Regions from separate parts of the Homo sapiens genome. Here region 1 is linked to region 2. The links are contacts of gene promoters, found by promoter capture Hi-C in human tissues and cell types (Jung and others, 2019). All regions are on one chromosome and are shown on one strand. Each heading gives the region's core, a stretch centred on a gene start or on the middle of the fragment in contact. The rest is flanking DNA. Distances are from core to core; before and after follow the strand shown. Region 1 overlaps MECOM (MDS1 and EVI1 complex locus). Region 2 holds the start of MECOM (MDS1 and EVI1 complex locus).

Evidence for each region. The method cuts DNA at HindIII sites, captures the fragments that hold promoters and counts their contacts. A contact is called where the count stands out against the background at its distance.
Region 1: a fragment that was not itself captured here is called in contact with the fragment with the promoter of MECOM in region 2 in 1 of the 25 tissues and cell types used here (aorta).

What each region holds. Positions count from the first base shown.
Region 1 is chr3:169,401,304-169,404,003 of GRCh38, reverse strand. All of the region lies in intron 1 of MECOM (MDS1 and EVI1 complex locus), which reads left to right. Among named protein-coding and RNA genes, the nearest start is that of MECOM-AS1, 45 kb to the left of the region's middle. The HindIII fragment of the contact is 6,018 bases long and covers 1-2,700 here.
Region 2 is chr3:169,662,352-169,665,051 of GRCh38, reverse strand. It overlaps MECOM (MDS1 and EVI1 complex locus), which reads left to right and starts at 1,340. Exons shown (of 17, transcript NM_004991.4): 1 at 1,340-1,716. The coding sequence starts at 1,680. RefSeq lists a silencer at 2,349-2,448. The HindIII fragment of the contact is 10,305 bases long and covers 1-2,700 here.

The DNA of each region.
Region 1 (2,700 bases), core at 171-2,670, 260 kb after region 2:
AAATATGTAAATTTTTATCTATCTTCCATTTTGGGTTTTCTCAGGAAACCAGGGACTGAGTTAGAACTAAGTGCATGTACACTAATAACCAAACTTATAAATCTAAATTTTATTATGTTCATCAGTTAAGAAAATATACTTAAAATTTGTCTTTTTATGTTTCAGAGGGTTAATAGAATTACTAAATTTCAAAACCCAAAATAGAAAAGAAGCTTATTGTTTGATCTGTGTTTTAATCACTTGGGCTTATTAATATAGAGCCCCTGCCATCTTGTTTTTATTTTATTCCATATTATTTTATTTACTTTCAATGGCTATGAAGTGGTAAACACAAGCCCTCCCTAAAAGGGATTTATCGTCATTCTCTTTTCGATGGTGCAAATAAGTCCATAAAATAAATAAGTGTCTTGCAGTTCATTCTTCCTTTTATATTTCTTAAAATGAAAATCCAAAACAGAATGCCTAGAAGTATATTGCAATTTGACAGGATTTGCTTTGTGTGCATAGAGAAAATACGTCTTGTAAAAAAAGGAAGTAGAAGAATATATGTATGTGCTCTGTGACACTATTTTATTGGTGTCTATTGCACCCATTACAATGAGACTCTTGGGATGTTGGACCTAAATTACAATAATCATAAATAATGTTAAACCATAATAAATAAAACCCAACTTCTACCCTCTGTCTGTTTTCCCTTTTCTATATTTTTTCCATCAAGAAAATACACAAGTAAATAATACAAAACATTAATTTGGGGAAGGATCAGATCTCCTTTGGGGAAGAAGGCACATAGGCTGAGGGACCTGTGGGCTGGGGAGCCACCCAGTACTGTGCTCTGGGGATTTAGAGTTCTGGGATGGGAGGATAAGCAGGGAAGAACGCTGTATAGAGAATGTTGATTTTGCAGGATTTCCTGCATATGCACTGAATGAGTTTTAAAAATCATCTTAACAAATTACTTTTCTTGACATTAAGCCACTTTTTTTCTCTCAAAGTTCTCAACAGTAGGAATAAATAACATGTAAGTTGAATTTTGCTTAATAAGTGCCTATCAAAACTGCTGAGGTCAGGAGTGGTTTTGGAGCCTTTCCTGAGGAATACCACTTCAGGCAACACTGAGCAAGGAAAGGGGTGTGTACCTGGCAAACACTTTGTGAAGGCAGTACCTGAGTTAGGATTGCCAAAGAATATTGAACATCGTAAAGTGTAGGAACATAAGGGTGATCAATATAAAGGCACAGCTACTAATGTCAAGCATGAAGTTTGTTAGGGAATCAACATTCCTTAAGAGTCTGCACGATCTAGTGAAGGTGTCCTCTAATGTCTTACCTGGTTTTCTTTTTTTTTTGAGACAGAGTCTCATTCTGTTGCCCAGGCTGGAGTGCAATGGTGCAATCTTGGCTCACTGCAACCTCTGTCTCCAGGGTTCAAGCGATTCTCCTGCCTCAGCTTCCTGAGTAGCTGGGATTATAGGCATGCGCCATCATGCCCAGCTAATTTTTGTGTTATTTTTTCTATTTGTACATGTAAGAATGAAATTTTTTTCCTACCATCCCCATGCTGATCTTCTGATCTCCAGGTTTCCTTCAAGCAAGGGAAAAGCCTGTTGGTTCTGCAGCCTCATTACTGTCTAGATGGCCCAGGGCTCTATGATTGCCTCCCAGGGGCTCAGGGCTCCTGATTCATTGTTCAGTATTCTAATCACTTCGTTGTTCAGTATTCCAATCTTCTCTCTATCTGTGTCCTCAGCCCCCATATGTGTCCCAGTTCCTGGGAGTGGCCAACTTTACCTATCACTGATAAATTAACTCATGACATAGTATATGAGCTCATTGAAGTTTATTTTATCCCCGTTCCACTCCCTTATTGGACTCTCTTTACTTCCTAAATCTCTCCCTGTTATTCTTCATCCTCCAGCATCACAGCCCCTTTTTTAAGCTCTCATGATTTCTGTCATGGACTACTGAAACAGCCTCTGACTGGTCCATCTGCTTTCTGCCAATTTTAAATTTCTCCTCTTTTTTGAATCAGAGTGATCATGCTAATATCCAGTTCTGATCTTTCCATTTTCCATATTGACAATAGGAGGAAGGCCAAGCTCTAGGGTATGGCATGAATCCTTTGATTGTTTGGATCCTCACTGCCTCTTTCTCTGCATGTGCACCTACTCTATTTCTCACTATAAGTCAGACAATACTGAGGAATGCTTAGTCTCATGCACATGCTAAGCTCTTTCATACTTTTCATACCTTTAGATATGTCCTCTCTTCTTTCTAGTAGGGTCTTTTTTTCCCTCATCTTTTCTCTGGGAAACACCTTCAAAGCCACCTTTCTTCTTCAGCTTATTCTTCCCTTCTTGGGTGTGGCCACTTCTTGACAGCCTTCCCTAGCCATTTCTACCCTAAGACAGAATTAATTCCCTCTCTCCACTGAACCTTGGACATAGTTCGTTGATCGTGGGTACTATGTTTTGTTTGCATGTCTTCCTTCTCTACTGAAATGTTGCTCTGTGAAGCCAAGAATGAGGCCAGGTATTTTGGTTTCCAAAGTCCACATTCAGTGTCTGTGTAGTCCATAGTAGGTTTTTAAATGTAAATGGAAATGAATAAACGATTAATGGTCAGAACTCTTGGAGATGATTTTACCTTAGCCCAGAGAAACAATGCTAAGTGGGTCAGGGGTGGGGGTGGGAGAATTTCA
Region 2 (2,700 bases), core at 91-2,590:
AGGAAAATGGTAGGCATCCTTAACAAGGACAAATTCTTTGAACTTTGATTCTCTTGAATAAAGAGATTTGCAGGCCATTGATACCCTTTGGGGTTGAACCTTGTTATTTGCTCTCTCATGTCTGCAGTCCTAGATTTGATAATAAATACCAACAGGTACGACTGGGCATTCTCAATGATTCCCCTTTCCCTCCACAGCCTTTGCCAAACTCATGCCCAGGACCTGCTTTTCTTTTCCTTTAACTTGAACATCAAGGATGTATTGTTGCAGCACGGAGACTGAAAAGATTGTAATTTTCTTTTATGGTGTCTGGCAGGATTTGCAACAGATATTAATGGGGACATAAATAGCACATGGAAGGTATTGAACAAAACTGTTTAATGCAAGAAGGTTGTACCAAAAGAAAATCTATACCTAGTTGGGATTGATTCATACCTTGTACACAGCTAGCCCCTTTAGGAATTCCCATTTCTGAGTGGCACTTCATTGGTAAATCCTGTAATTAAAGGAAATTTCAACAATGTATTTTTTTAAGAGTGTGTGATTTTCCTCCCTACTCCTCTTTCTTTTGACCCCGAGGTTGTAGGTTTAAGCGAGTGAGTGAAAATGGCAGGCAAGCAGAGCTGCATCGGGAGGCGACCGGGGCAGCAGTGGGGGAGGCCGGAAGGTGACAGCCGACCTCTGAGAAAGCAGGAGGTCTTTGGATGTCAAATGCCAGCGCCGGCCCGGACCCGGGAATCAAGGGTGATCATTACTACTTGGTAGGGAAAGAATACTGAAATGTCCCAAGGATGGCAGCAAGCATTGGTATTACAGCTAAAATCGAGGAAAAAACCAGTTATTTATTCTGCTTACAACCCTGAAAGCGGAAGCTGCAATAGCTTCAGTAGCAGTAGCAGCGGCAGCAGTAGATTTCTCAAGTTCAGGATGATTCTCACTTTCTCCTGGATTATTAGCCGAGGGTCCAGCCCTTCTAGTTCTTTAACAGGAGAAGGGTTTTTAAAAAATGTTTTTAAAGTTTTTTTCCCCCCTGGCTTCTTGCTTCCCTCGTAGATGGTATAGAAAAATGTCTGCAATTTATGGTGGGAAAAACAATAACAATAATCATGATACAAGCTTGTTGGCGATTCTAACATGGAATCAATCCTCTGCCCAAGCCTTTTCAATTCCCCCCTCCCCTTTTTTTGGGCGAGGTGTCTGCTCCCCTCTGGCTCCCTGCGTTCGCTCCCCGCCCCCCGCCGCCCTCCCCGCGGCTCCCTTTCTCCGCCTCCTCGGCGATTGCCATCTGACAAGATCTCCAAATCAAAGTGATAAATCGCTCCAAACTTTTTTTGGCGGCGCTGAGATGTTGGAGGGGCGTCTAGCGCGCATGTGCGAAGGTGTCCAAACTGACAATGCTGGAGAGATAGCGAGTGTGGATTGAGAGAAAGGGAGAGAGGGAGGGAGAGAGAGTGAAAGAAGAAAATACAGAGAGTGAGTGTGTGGAAGAGAGAGAGAAACAGGAGAGAAACAGGAGGGAGGGAGAGAGAGAGAGAGAGAGAGAGAGAGAGAGAGAGAGAGAGAGAGAGAGAGAGAGACAGGAGAGAGAGGGAGGGAGCGAGAGGGAGAGCAAAAGAAGGAAAGGATCCAAGAAAAAAAAGCCCCAACCACACACCAGCGGCTGCAGGACTGGGCACAGCATGAGATCCAAAGGCAGGGCAAGGAAACTGGCCACAAGTAGGTGCAATATCCCTTTTCTATTGGCTTTTCCCCCTCCTCTGCCATCTTGCATATCTGTCTCTAGCGCTCCGGGAGGGAGCGCGGGCTGCCTCTTGCGCCGGGGCCCCGGGTGGAGGGCAGGCGGAGCGCAGCCCCAGCAACCTGCCGGTTCCAGTCTCTGCTCCCGGTCGCCCGCGCTCTCGCTCCCGGGTTGGGCGCCGGAGGAGCCTGGGCAGCCCTCAGTCCCGCGCACCGACCAGCTGTGGCAACCCCGGGGTGGGGGTGGGGGTGGGGGCAGCAAAGACTAGGGGTGGGAGGGAGGAGAGAGCGCGAGAGTGAGCGCGAAGGGGTGGGGTGGGGGGGAAGAGAAGAGGAGAAAGTCTCCCCCTCCCCTCCCCTTCCCCCCAGGCGGGGGAGAGTTGCCTCTGGCCAACCAGCTAGTCCCGGGTGTGGGAGGAGGGGGGCGCGGGGGATGGGGGGCCGGCAGGAGAAGGGAGCCTTTTCGAGCCTCGGTTTGTTTCTGGGGTTTGGGTAGGGTAGGCGGCTCAGAGGGAGCCACAGTGGCGGCGGCGGCGGGCGGCTGTGGTGGACTTGGGAAAAGTTGCGAGGCGGCCGCTGGAAGTTGCGCGGGCGGGCGGGTGGACTGCGCCGAGCCGCGGCTGCGGTAGTGGGCGCTGTGCGCTCGGCCATGCTCTCCGGCGCGGCGCTGCGCGGCGGGAGGACTGCGGCGGGGAGTAGGGGACACCAAGGTGGGGGCTGTGATCGCGGGGTGGGGGCGGGGGCACGGGCAGAGCAGAGCTACCGGCTCCGCACAGCCACGCGCAGGTGGGGAGGAAAGAGGCCCAGCGAGCGCTCGGACGTGGGGAGAGAAGAGGCCCAGCGAGCGCTCGGAGAGCCGGGAGTGGAGGGCACACAGCCAGCGGCGGCAGCCTAGGAGCAGGAGGCAGAGAGGGCGCGCTGCGACCCGCGCACCTCGGGCTTGCTGGGCGCCGAGCAAACCCC